Regions from separate parts of the Homo sapiens genome. Here regions 1 and 2 are each linked to region 3. Evidence: promoter capture Hi-C in 16 types of primary human blood cells and fetal thymus (Javierre and others, 2016). All regions are on one chromosome and are shown on one strand. The core of a region is centred on a gene start or on the middle of the fragment in contact, and the rest is flanking DNA. Distances in the headings are between cores, read along the strand shown.

Evidence for each region. Contacts are between HindIII fragments. The CHiCAGO score rates a contact against its expected background, and 5 or more counts as called.
Region 1: a contact is called between a fragment that was not itself captured here and the fragment with the promoter of SNHG8 in region 3, in 1 of 17 cell types (M1 macrophages). The highest score is 6.4, in M1 macrophages.
Region 2: a contact is called between a fragment that was not itself captured here and the fragment with the promoter of SNHG8 in region 3, in 1 of 17 cell types (non-activated CD4 T cells). The highest score is 7.3, in non-activated CD4 T cells.

What each region holds. Positions count from the first base shown.
Region 1 is chr4:115,275,042-115,279,659 of GRCh38, forward strand. No RefSeq gene overlaps it. Among named protein-coding and RNA genes, the nearest start is that of NDST4, 160 kb to the left of the region's middle. The HindIII fragment of the contact is 4,335 bases long and covers 197-4,531 here.
Region 2 is chr4:115,095,671-115,100,596 of GRCh38, forward strand. All of the region lies in intron 1 of NDST4 (N-deacetylase and N-sulfotransferase 4), which reads right to left. Among named protein-coding and RNA genes, the nearest start is that of NDST4, 15 kb to the right of the region's middle. The HindIII fragment of the contact is 2,923 bases long and covers 1,348-4,270 here.
Region 3 is chr4:118,275,520-118,280,412 of GRCh38, forward strand. It overlaps SNHG8 (small nucleolar RNA host gene 8), which reads left to right and starts at 3,243. Exons shown (of 3, transcript NR_034011.1): 1 at 3,243-3,273; 2 at 3,870-3,912; 3 at 4,105-4,304. SNORA24 (small nucleolar RNA, H/ACA box 24) reads left to right here and starts at 3,671; the gene lies at 3,671-3,801. It overlaps PRSS12 (serine protease 12), which reads right to left. Exons shown (of 13, transcript NM_003619.4): 13 at 4,519-4,893. RefSeq lists an enhancer at 2,771-2,950 and a silencer at 3,021-3,070. The HindIII fragment of the contact is 13,799 bases long and covers 1-4,893 here.

The DNA of each region.
Region 1 (4,618 bases), core at 1,114-3,613, 3.0 Mb before region 3:
CTTTGCATATGTGATAGCTGTTACTATACTTCTCATTATACAGTGTTTCAAACAATTTCTTTCTAAAATTTAATCAAAAATGAATATATTTTGAAAATGAATGCATAAATATATATGGAACTCCTTTGGCTTTCACATGACTTTAATATAAGAGCTGGTTGTAGCTTTTGAACAAAACAAACAAAAAATAAGAATAAGCTTCTTTGTGGAATTACTCTAAGGGTTTTGTTTTTGTCACTATAAATAACCTGCTGGTTTCCATACATACATTTTGTATAAACTTGATATTATAAACACAATGAATCACAGATTTTAAAACAATTATCCATTATTTACCTTGTATTATTTTGTTCTAACTTAGATTCTGATCTATCTCACTAAACCACAGAGTAATCTATGAACCAGAGTGAATGAGAGAAGGCTCAAATTGCTTTTTTAAGTGCATTAGACTCTGACAAATGAGTAGGTTCAATTTTAAGATCCATTCTATATGTTCTGTGGAATCTGTAAGAGAAAGAAATGAGAAATAGGATATTAAAATGTCATCAAAGGAGGAATAACTTCAGAAAATCTAATAAAAAATGTTGGGGCAAGTGGTAGCATAAATGAGACTATAATTTCTTGTCATATTTATTACCATAATATTTTCTATTTTTCTGCTCTCTGCTTTCCAAGAACCTGCAGAGATTGGCCAATTGTTGGACAATAGCTGTGTTCTCTTCCTCTTTGGCACTCTGCTAGACTTTTCTCAAGCTGTCACTTGGAGACATGTGACAGAGCTGTGGCCAAAGCAATGTCAGTTTAAGTGATAGACACCACTTCCAAGCCTGATTGCCTGTAAAATTTCTGGCATAATGTGCCAAATTATCTTGCCTTCCTCGCTTGCTGGCAAGATGCAGAGGATCTAGTGAATGATTCCAATTTTCTAAGGAAGACGTATAAAAAAGAGAAGGCTTGATCTTTGAATGACACTATGAAGTAGAGTTTCCCAAAGATCAACTGTCATTGAACTCCACTGCAAATAACAAATAAACTCTGAGAAGTTGGAAAGTTGTTAAAATAGTAATTACTGTGATAATACTTAGCATGAATAACATGGATATATATTGGTTGTTAGTTGTCTGTAGTCGCCTTTTCATGGTATTGAAATATGTTGAACATCACAATAGGACAAAGTTTTCCATTTGTAAAAAGTATTACTTAAATGTTTCACCTACTCAGTGCACCAGAATCTTGACTAAAATGTGCTCAAAAAGAGATATTTGAACCATACTGGCCTCCAGTGAAACTTGGAGCATATTGTAAAAATTCTTAATCTTGGGATGTAATAAAAGATATAATAGAAATACCTATTTGAATAACAGAATTGAGATTATCACATGACATTACATGTATGTGTATATATGCATATACACATTTATATTATATAATTTAATGTATAGAAGTATGCATATTTTATTTAACACATACTAAGTTTATTATATAATTATAGCAAAGTATGTAAATTATATGTTATACACCTAATATGTAATTAGTTAAAGAAAAAAATCACCATTAAAAACTTGATATGAATGTTAAATATTTCATTTGGCATGGATTTAGAGCTATCCCTTTGCCAGTGTTGCAAAAACAAAGGTCTTTGTTCTCTCTCTCAGTTTTTCTTACTATATTGTTCAGTTATAAGAAGGTTCTCTTTTGTTATACTCATATTTTCGTCCGATGTGTGCTGAGATGTTGTCTTCTTATAAAAGACCTTCAAAATTTGGCGAAGTTGTTGAGTATGTATTTTAAGCACATTCCTTTTTTTTGAGTATTAAATTTTTCAATATTATATTTAAAAAATAAAATAGAATATCACTTTCCTGATAAGAACTATGACGTGTCAAAGAGATTTTATTTTGGTAGAAAATAAAAGACTCACGCCTGTAATCCCAGCACTTTGGGAGGCCGAGGCGGGCGGATCACGAGGTCAGGAGATCGAGACCATCCCGGCTAAAACGGTGAAACCCCGTCTCTACTAAAAATACAAAAAATTAGCCGGGCGTAGTGGCGGGCGCCTGTAGTCCCAGCTACTTGGGAGGCTGAGGCAGGAGAATGGCGTGAACCCGGGAGGCGGAGCTTGCAGTGAGCCGAGATCCCGCCACTGCACTCCAGCCTGGGCGACAGAGCGAGACTCCGTCTCAAAAAAAAAAAAAAAAAAAAAAAAAAGAAAATAAAAGACTACTGGATCAGAAATCAGAAACAAAGGAGTTTATTGCTCACACCAATAACATTGGCCAGACATAGATTGGCAGAATGAAAAAATTTACAAGACCCAAACACCTCCTAGCTTCAGGACACTCATTTTAGATTTAAGGATATGTATACGTTGAAAGTGAAGGGGTGGAAAAAAAATTTTCCATGCAACTCATAACCAAACATTGTAGGGTTGGCTATTCAGTACTTATATCAGACAAAATAAACTTTAAGTAAAAAAATTATCACGAGACAAACCAGTACATTATATAAGGATAAAATTGTCAATTCACTGGAAAGATGTAACAATTGTAGATGTATATGCACTCAACATCAGAGCACCTACAAAGCAAACATGCACAGAATTGAAAGGGGGAACAAACAGCATGCAGTTACTGACTTCTATTGTAGTACACTGTGGTAGCAGACTTATCCCACTTTCAATACTGGAAAGAACATCAAGACAGAAGATCAATAAAGAAACAGAGAAGTTGAATAAAACTATAGACCAATGGACCTAATAGACCTATATACAGAAGATTTCATCCAAATAGCAGTAAAATACACATTCTTCTCAAATTCATGAATATTTCATGAGGATAGGTCACATTTTAGTTCACAAAAATGTCACAAAAAATTTAAGAAGACTGAAACTACACTACATATATTTTCTGACCATAATAAAATAAAAATAGAAATGACTAACATAAGAAACACAGGAAAATTTACAAATAAGTAGATATCGAACAACACACTCTTGGACAACCATGAATCAAAAAAGACATCAAAAGAAAAGTTGAAAAAAAAAAACTCAAGACAAATAAAAATAAAAAACACAATATTCTGGAACCTAAGGGATGCAGCAAAAGCCACAGTAAAGAGAAAGTCTCAAATAAACAACCTAACTTTATACCTCATAAAATAGAGAAAGAACAAATAAACTGTAATTAGCAGTAGAAATAAAATAACAAAGTTTAGAGCAAAAATAAACCAAGTAGAAAATAAAAAAATAAATGAATCTCAGAGTAGGTTTTTTGGAAAAGATAAAATAATTGACAAAACCTTAGCCAGCTTTACTAAGGAAAAAGGACAGAAGGCAGAAATATCAGATATGAAAGAAGAGATATTGTAACTGATACCAGTAATAAGAAAAATCATCAAAAGGTTATAATTGTTCATAATTTTAATATATATTACATATAATATGAACAATATGATGTATATTAGACATATTATTATTAACAATTATATGCTAACAAATTGGATAACCTAGAAGGTTGGATAAACTCCTGGAAACATACAACCTGCCAAAACCAAATCATGAAGAAATAGAAAACTTGAACAGATCAATAATGAATACAGAGACTGAATCAAGAATCCAACATTTTCCAACAATGAAAAGCCCAGGAGCAGATGGCCTCACTGGAGAATTTGATTAAACCTTTAAAGAATTAACACCAATCCTTCTTAACACTCCTAAAAAATTATAAAAAGGGCACATTTCCAAACTAATTTTATAGGTCAGCATTACACTATACCAAAGATAGAAAAACACTCTAGAACAGTTAAAAAAAAATATATAAAAAAAAACCTAGAGGCCAACATTCTTGATTAACATAAATACAAAAATCTTGAAAAAATATGAGCAAACTGAGTTTAGCAGCACCTTAAAGAGATCATATACTGTAACCAAGTGGGCTTGATCTATGGGATGCAAAGATGATTCAACATATGCAAGCCAATTCATGTGATACATCACATTCACAGAATAAAAGATCATGTGATCATCTCAAAACATTGGAGAACATTCGACATTCTTTTGTAATAAAACAAAACAAAACAGATACTCTCAACTCAAAAAACTAGGTACAGACATGCTGTCATAAAATGAAGTTTCAGTCAATAGACTGCCTATATGATAGTGGTCCCATAAGTTTATAATACCATATTTTCACTGTACTTCTTCTGTGTCTAAATATGTTTAGATATATGAATGCTTACTATGGTGTTATGATTGCTACAGTATTCAGTAGAGTAATATGCTGTACAGATTTGTAGCCTAGGGACAGTAGACTATATCATATAACCCAGTTTTGTATTAGGCTATATTAACTAGGTTTGTGTAAGTGCATTCTATGATGTTTGCACAATGATGAATGCCTAAGGAGGCATTTGTCAGAACATATCCCTGTGGTTAAGTGACACATGACTGCATAGAAAGAATTTACCTCAACATAGTGAAGGCTGTATATGACAGGCCTACAGCTAACATCACACTTCATAACAAAAAGTTGAAAGCTTTTTTTAAGAACAGGAATAAGGCAAGCATGTCAACGTTCCCCATTTCTACTCAACAAGGAAGTATAACTTCTACCCAGAGTAA
Region 2 (4,926 bases), core at 1,559-4,058, 3.2 Mb before region 3:
AAACTCTCATGCTTTTAAAAAAGTACTCATGAATAATTATTGGTAATAAAGATATCCATATGGATGATCCTTCCAACACTATAGAGGTTTTATGCATCCTCTTAAATGTTTCTTCTTTCTCCCTACTATTGTTAACAGGCCCCATAGTCATATGCTAGGTCTTTTCATTATAATTAATCATTGTATAACAGTAAGCAATTAATAATATTTCATATATTGTGCTATCCAATCACAATCTTCTATTTCTTTTGCTCACTTCACCTGTTAATCCAACATCAACAATATTTCAAACCTCTAAAATCTTTAAGTCATTTATCCTTTAACTTTACACTCTCTCTCTCATGGCCTCACAATCCCCCTTACCCAGTTTAAATTCCATAATCAATTATTATATTAATTCTATTTTATATACTCTCAAATCATTTTACACTCTTTTATTTCATGATGTACATTTTTTAAAACAAAACTGACTAAATCCCACTGTCCACCAAATCTACACTTGCAATTCTGATAATGGATAGAACATTACTCAACACATTTTTTAGAACAAAACTGACTAAATCCCACTGTCCACCAAATCTACACTTGCAATTCTGATAATGGATAGAACATTACTCAACTGACTTAAATTCATGATCAGTAGACCCAAATGAGCTTTTAATTCTGTGATAAGTCTTGCTATCTCTTTTTAGTTCATTAACTATCTTTTCTCCTAGATGACTGTTTCATATTTTTCTCTATCTTCAAACTTCTAACATTTCTTTCCTTTTCATTGTTCTCATCTGATAATCTTGCTTTCTATTTCATAGAGAGCACAGTAGCAAGCAGACAAGGATTTTCATAAGCACTCAAACACTTATTCCCTATGTGAGTGTATGTTCTCTTTAGGATGAGTTATCCATTCTAGCTAAGGACACCCTCCTTAGCTAGAACAAGTGTTCACCAGTTCTAATGCATTATCACTTACTCACTGAAGATATTGCTTCAGTAATACTTTTCACACTCCCATGTAGCAATAATATTTTCCTTCTCGACTAAAATATCCATTCTAACACAGGCATTCTGTTCTTTTTTATCATGATTCACTTACTTCACAATCTATCGCTATATTTTGTTCCTGTCTACAGCAAAACTGTTTGAAATGCTAAGTCCAATTTTTCTAGGACCTACTCCAATCAGGCTTACCATCACAACTTCATTGAAATTTATTTTATAAATGTCACCAATAAACTTCACGTTGTAAAATCCATTTATCAATTTTTGCTCCTCATCTTATCTTACTTTACCTATAAGCGGCATTTTATACCCCTGATCATCCCCTCAACCGCACAGAAACTATCTTTAGTAAGCTTCTAGGAAATCGTATATTTCAGTTTCTTTATGACTTAGTCACAATTTATGTTTTTTCTTAATCCTTACCTTCTAAATGTGAAGTTCCCCAGGGCCTATTCTTTACTCTTCTACTCTTTTCTATTTATATTCACTTCCTTGGGATATCTTACAATGTTCTAGTTTTAAGTACTATTGATAAAGTTGACTTCAAAGTTTACGCTTCCAGCTAAATCTATTACCAACTCCTGTTTGTATATCTAACCACATATGTGATATTTTCACTTGGAAATCTAATGGGCATTTCCAACTTAAATGAGACCAAACCTGATTATCTGATATTTTCCTTTATCCTAAACTTATTCTTCCCACTGTTTCTCCATATAAGTAAATGATGCTTAATTTTTAAATTTGTTTAGGAACTCTCTTTCTCTCTATCTCTATTGGGGCTGGCCATTGACTCCTCTCTTTCTTTCCCGTCAGACATACCAGGCATCCCATCCATTGGCTCTACCCATAAAATATATCTTGAATCTGAACATATCTTAACAATTCCCATGGCTATCACCTCTGCACAAATTAGCATTATTTCTCCACTGGACTATTGAAATTTCTTTCTAATTGATCTCTGCCTAAGCCCTTGCTCCACATCATTTTTTTCCCAATACATTGACCAGGGTCCTCATTTTACAATGTAATTAAGGTTATGTCTCTCCTCTGATCAACTCCCCACCACCAAAATCGGCCCTAATTTTACTTAGAGTAACAGCCAAATTCACAGAGTGGTCCACACAGTTCTACCAAGTATTCTACTACATCTTCCCTACTGGGCCTCTCTATATTCTCCAAACATGCTGTGTTCTTTACATATGTACTTCTAGGCTTCTGGACTTCTTGTTTCTTCTTGCCTAGAATACTTGTGAACCAGATATAAACATGGCAGATGTCCTCATTTCTTTTAATCTTTTATTCAAATGTAATATCCTCAGTATAGTTGTTTCCGGTTTCCCGGTGCAAAATTGCAAGCTCCCTCCTTACACTTCCTAAACCCTGCTTGGTTGTGTGTGTAATACTAACAATCTATTACACCATATACATAATATTACATTTCTTCTTGTCTATCACTCCAATTAAAATGCAAACTCTTTGAAGCTGGAATATTATTCTGTTCTGTACCTTTTATTCCTAGTTCCTATATCTCTCTTTACAAACGAGTAGCAAGAAATTGGATTGAAAAGGTAGGTAGGTAATAGAAGATAAAAAGGTCTTACTCAAATTCTAGAGAGTTTAAATTTGTTTAAAATTGGACAACTATTGAAATACTTCGATGTGAAGACTGACATGGTAAACATTTCCTTTTAGAAAGTTATCTTTTGAGGAACTAAGAGGGTGGATTAAAGCCAGCAGGTAGGAGACCAGTTAATAATTAGTTACAATAGTCCAGAGGAAGACTTAAAAATGAAAATATGGATTAAAAAGAACACGCAAAGTATATTTGGAAAGCAAAAGACTCACAGTCACCAATTCAATATTAAAGGAGAATAACAAAGTTGGAGGATAGATACTAACAAACTTCAAGATTCAAGGTTTATTATAAAGCTATAGTAATCAAGACACCGTGGTGTAAATGAAAGAACAGACCAGAATAGTGATCCCAAAAATAAACTCACAAAAATATTGTCGATTAATGTTTTCCTTTTCTTTTTTATTTTTTAATCAGGTTCCCCCTCTGTCACCCAGGCTGGAGTGCAGTGGCATGATCACAGCATGGCTAACTGCAGCTTAGCCCTCCTGGGATCAAGTGATCTTCCCACCGCAGCCTTCTGCATAGCTAGGACCACAAGCATGTGCCACCACACCTTGCTAATTTTTTTTATATACATATTTTGTAGAGACAGTGGTCTCACTATGTTACCTAGGCTGGTCTTGAATTCCTGGGCTCAAGCAGTCCTTCCACATTGGCGTCCCAAAATGATGGGATTACAGGCATGAGCCACCATGCCCAGATGTCAAGTATCTTTGACAAAAGAACAAAGGTAATGCAATGCAGAAAGGATAGCCTTTTCAATAAACCCTGCTGGTACAACAGAACATCCACATGCAGAAACAGTGATTTACACACAGACTTTACAACCTTTTTAATAATTAACTCAAGTGAATTTTAGACTATTTGTAGATATAAATTTATTGAAATGTAAATGTAAAATACATAACTATAAGACTCTTAGAAGATCATATAGGAGAAGATCTAGATGACCTTGATTTTTTTTTACTTAACACAAAAGGAACAATCCAAAAAAGAAAGAATTGATACGTTTAACATTATTAAAGTAATAAACTTTTGCTCGGTGGCAGACACTCTGAAGAGAAAGATGACAGGCTACAAACTGGGAGAAAATATTTGCAATAGCCGTATCTGATAAAGAACTGTTTTCCAAAATATACAAAGAACTCTTAAAATTCCATAGTAGAAAAACAACCCAATTCAAAAATGGGAAATAAAAACCTAAATAGATACCTCCTTAATGAAAAAATACAAATGGCCATTTAGGATATGAGAAGATGGTACACATCATATGGTACTGGGGAGTTGCGAATTAAAGTATCAATGAGATGCCAGTACACACCTTTTAGAATGGGTAAAATCTAAAACAATGACAACACTAAATGCTGGGGAGGACATAGAGCAACAAGTGCTCTCATTCATTGCTGGTAGGAATGAAAAATGATACAGCCACTTTGCAAGACAATTTGGCAGTTTCTTACAAAGCTAAACATAGTCATATTATCCAGCAATCATGATCCTTGGTATTTACTCAATGAGTTAAAAAATTTACATTCACACAAAAATTTGCACACAGATGTTTTATTGCAGCTTTATTTATAGATGCCAAGGCTTGGAAGCTACCAAACTGTCCATCAAAAAGTGAATGAATAAATAAGCTTTGGTACATCTGTACGGTGAAATATCATTCAGCTCTAAAAATAAATGATCTATCAAGCCACAGAAATACATGGATGAACATAAAATGCATATTAGTAAGTGAAATAATCTAATCAGAAAAGGTTATATACTATATAATTCCATTTATATGAAATTCTGGAAAAGGCAAAACTATAGAGTGAGTGAAAGGATCGGTGGTTATCACAGGTTTGGGAGCAGGGAGAGAGGGATGAATAGGTGGAACACAGGTGATATTTAGGGTAGTGAAATTTTTCTATTTAATACTATGAAAATTAATACATAATTAAAAAGTAATGACAATACAACATTTGTTGAAACCCATAGGATATAAAACACCAAGTGTGTGCCCTGATGTAATCTGTGGACTTGGGGTGATAATGACCTGTCAGTACTGGTTTCTTGATTGTAGGAGATGGTGGTGGGAAAAGTTGTACACAGAGAAATATGGAAAGTCTTTGTACTTTCTGTTCAATTTCTGCTGGGAATCTTAAAGTGCTCTAAAAAGTTAAGTCTATTCAAAAAAAGAGCAAGCTGTTTCATGACATTTATATATAACTTTCTAGCTCTTATAAATTTGTAGCCCTATGTGGGCTACTATTACACATGCACAGTAGGATACATTTAAGAAGCAC
Region 3 (4,893 bases), core at 1,993-4,492:
CGCCATGACTGAATGTTTCCTGAGGCCTCCCCAGCCATGCTTCCTGTACAGACTGTGGAACCATGAGACAATTAAACTTTTCTTTACAGATTACCCAGTCTCAGGTAGTTCATTATAGCAATGTGAGATCAGACTAATACACAATGTAACAATAGAGAAAAGGTAACTATAAAAATAATGTAAACAGTTGTAACTTGGCCACTGTAGAAATCATTAGTGCTATAATAATATATTGAAATACTTCCGATTATCTTCCTTCTAAGCACACAGTAGGATTCCATTTCCCCAGGCTTTTGGAGTTAGGTGTGGCCATGGAACTTGCTTTAGTCCATAAATATGAGTCAAAGTAACATATGTCACATCAGAATGGAATCCTTTAAGAACATAATGACTATTTTCCCTTCTCCCTTTATGTTGCCTAGAACCATTACAAATGGTGAAGGCCTCATTAGCCTGGTCTCTAACATGAACATAAGCATGACAAGAAACAAATCTCTGTTGTTTTAAGCCACAGAGATTTTGGATCTTCTGTAACTGCAACACAACTTCATCCATCCTGACTGTGACACTTTTAGAATTTGTCAACAAAATTTTATACTCCCCTCAAGACGGGCTAATTTCCCTCCCCTTGAATGTGAGCTGGCATTAATAACTAACTTCTAACAAGTGATGGTGTGTAGGCCACAATAAAAAGTGTTGGAGCTTCCTCTCTTGAGTCACTCACTCTGAGGAAAGCCAGCTGCCACGAGAATCATGAGGACAGTCAAGCAGCCCTATGGAGAGATTCACATGCTGAGGAATTGAGGCTTCCTGCCAACAATGAGCATTAACTTGTCAGGTCTGTGAATGAGCCACCTTGAAAGAGAATCCTGCCGCACCAGCCCCAGTCAAGCCTTCAGATGGCTGCAATGCCAGTCAACATCCTGACTGCAACCTCACAAGATACACTGAGCCAGTTAAGCTGCTCTTAGATTCCTGACCAACAAAAACTATTTGAGATAGTAAGTGCTTATTTTTTTTTAAGCTACTAGGCTTTAGGCTAATTTGATATACAGCAATCGATAACTAATACATTGGTTGATACAAAAATATATCAAATACTGAAAATAAAGGATAGGGAAAAATAAGAACTAATTTCTTTGCTTTGAACTTTGAATGATTTGGAAAACATTGTAATGGCACTAACTGTAAGTTACTCAATTATATTCTCAAGTCTTGAGGCAAAGGCCATGTCTGCTCAATAAACATTTGCTGGAGTCTAGTAAATGTTTAACAACTGAACAAGATGTTCAGAACTGACAAGAATATTTTAATATAGATAGGAGGGAACGTCCATCTCCTCTCTTTTGGACACTATGCTTTTTTTTTAACACTAGATCATACTGCAATACACTATACTTTTATTACTGCAGCAAAACCAATTTTTACAGCAGAAGTATCACGCTGCTAGTATACACTGGAAGTTTAGATTTGCTAAGTGTTTTAAGATAGAAATAAGTCCACAGGTTATTTCCTCACTATATTTTCTCCTATTCATCTCAGCATTCATATGACAGATGTGCCATTCTATGTTAAATTTTTCTGATGACTACCAGTTTCAACACTAAACCACAAAAGGAAAAAAGATATAGTGCAGGGAAAAGCATTGTTGAAGAATAAATATTCTATAATGAACTGTTCACTCCATGTATCAAAAGCAGAACTGAAATGTTACCTAGCCATCATTTGATCAGTTCTAACAGGTTCACCTTGCATTCTATCTTTAAAATCCTTAGGCTGGGCGCAGTGGCTTGCACCTGCAATCCTAGCACTTTGGGAGGCCGAGGAAAGAGGATTACTTGAGCCCAGGAGCACAGGAGATCAGCCTGAGGGCAATATAGTGAGGGCTTGTCTTTCAAAAAAAAAAAACCTTAAAAAAAAAGTAGCCAAGTGGTGGCACACGCCTAGCAGGAGGCTCGCTTGAGCCTAGGAGGTGGAGGTTGCACTGAGCCAAGATCATGCCACTGCACTCCAGGCTAGGCAACAGAGCAAGAATGTTTCTAAATAAATAAATACATAAAATAAAATCCTTAAGCCAATCTTCATTTACCAACCAATTTTTAATTCTTTTATTTGTTACCACATTGTCTCTCCTGAATATCCAAAGGCTCAAAGCCTTGGTTTGAATGCAGCTAAATTCATTGGGTTTGATCTCAAGTCAAACTTAGAAATACTGTCATCTCAGCCACAAATTTCACACTAAAGTAGATAGAAACCACTACTAAATCACTACTTTGTCTTAAAATGAAAGTATAATAGACTGTAAGGTTATAATTGCTTTTTTAAGTTAAACTTTGTTTTACATTTACAGAAAATTTGCAAAAATGGAGTCCCCACACCCCCTTCATCCAATTTCCCCTACCATTAATATCTTACAATACCATGGTATATCTGTCACAATAAAGAAATCGGTATTGGCACTATTACCTAAATTCCACACTTTGTTCAGATTCGCTAGTTTTCCATTAATGTCCTTTTTCTGCTGGAGATCCCAGCCAGGATACCACATTACATTTAATCATTATGCATCATTTTCTCTGGCATAATAGTTTCTCAGACTTTTCTTGTTTTTGAGTAGTGATTAGGTAATTTGTAAAATGCTAACCAGCGATCTCAGCTCACCATAACTTCCGCCTCTCGGGCTCAAGAGATTCTCCCACCTCAACCTCCCGAGTAGCCGGGACTACAGGCGTTCACCACCACACCAGGCTAATTTTTGTATTTTTAGTAGAAACGGGGTTTCGCCATGTTAGCCAGGCTGGTCTCCAACTCCTAACCTCAAGTGATCCGCCCGCCTCGGCCTCCCAAAGTGCTGGGATCACAGACGTGAGCCACCGCGTTCGGCCCCTTTTTCTAATATTGTCTAAAATAAGTATCCTAAACAGGAAATACCAAAAAAATCCCCCTCGCTTTCGTGACCTACACCGGTAAGCGTCAGGATCTTTCGCTATGCGAGAACCTTTTGGCTCTCGTATGTGCGCATGCGTCTGGATCCGGAGCCAGGTGACCCGCTCAGACGTGGACCATGTGCGGGGGAGGGGGGAAAGGAGCCGCGAAGGGGGTGGTAGACGGAACAGGTGGAGCCGCGGCGGGGCTAGGCGGGGCGGGGAGTGAAACAGCATAGGCTCCGCCCCTCGCGGCGCTTCCCCCGGAATAGCGTCATCAGTTCTATAAGAGAGCGTGTGCCGAAGGCCTCGGCCTTTCACATTCGGGAAGCGTCGGGATTAGGTGAAAGTACGTAGTTGTCTTTCGTAAGTTAAAATGATAATTGGGCCGAAACTTACTGCCTTACCTAAAAGGCAGCGCAGTCAGGATATTGGTAGGTCGGGGGCGGCTTTGGAAACCCTTAAGTTTACAAGCATGCGCGGACTTGAGTGCTCATTAGGTCGCCGGGCGTCCACGTGCAGCCCTGGACCCTGAACCCCGGCGTGCGTGGGCCGTGGGCCCTCGGGGAAAGGTTCCGTGCACTCGGGGACTCCGGTGAAGCCTGTTCAGCCGTCTGTGTCATGTGGCCATCTTGAGTCTACTCTGTCGCTCTTGTGCCCTAGCACCCCGAGAACCGTCAGTTTGAGCCAGATGGTGAGTAATAACCTGTAGCAGTTTGGTTGCTGGTTAATTCTGGATTGTGAATCTCCATGTATCTTTGGGACCTGTCAGCCGTGGCAGTCTCCCTTCCTAGCCATGGAAGAGCATATCCTTGTTTATTGGCAAAGCTGTCACCATTTAATTGGTATCAGATTCTGACTTGCACAAGTAACATTCACTGTTAAAAACCTAGAGGGTGCCGGGTTATTGGGCAAAATTTCTAAACCGTTGTTCAATGTTTCTAGGAAGCTGAGCTGAACACATTACGATGGATGATGGAAACATAAGGTACATTTCTTTTTTGATATTTCTGAGTTAATCTGAAACGCCTTAGCGGCAGGACGTTGGAAAGCTAAAGTTGGCCCGTTTTGCTGGCTTTTGTAGTTTGAGTTAACAACCAACTGAATTAGCTGATAAGATCTCAAAACAGTGAGGTAAGTACACAGCTCGGAGTTTTATAATGCTTTTTTTCTCTTGCAGACTATCAAGAAATCCAAGTGGTAATGGGCGAAGTTTATTCAGCATCCGGCAATGGACTTATCGTAGTTGGGGAAACGGGTGTTCCGAATAATATCCTGGAAGTTATCAGGACACCTATTTTAAATATAGGCCTGAATTTTGTAAAGTAATATTTAAGGTGGTCCGTGATAATTAAATAAAATGCTTAATTCATGTGGCTACTCATTGTTCCTTGACTGAGTGATTAATAGACGGAAAGGTAGTTAATAGCATAATACCTCCTATTTAGTGTTACACGCTCATGTGGAAGTAGTGTGAGTACAGTTCTAAGGTAATTGCAGCCTTTGTGAAAAATGTAAAATATAAAAATTACCAGGCTACCCCCAAGGGAGACAGCAGACTCTTTTTAAACCATACAAAAATTTAAGGCAGTTATACAAGGTGGAAAATTATGTATTTATTTACACAAATATGCACAGAACACTTGTATCTTTCAAAAGTCACACTTAAGACATAGTAAAAGCATGTTGTATGAACCATGTATTCTTAAGGATTGAGCAAACTGCAGGCTGCTTGCTGCCTTTTAGGTTTGCTAGTCCCTGATCTACTTGAAACAGATGTTGCTTGCCCCAACACTAGTTTAATTATAAGGGCAGCCTGTGAGAAAGTTTCAATAGACATTTTTCTCACCTATATTGCACGTTTTTCTGAAGCCCTTGTGCAAGTGTGTGTGCCATGTGTAGTTCTATTTACATATAAACGCTACTTTAAAAGTTTATCAAAATCATGAGTTTTTACAAAAGTTTTTAA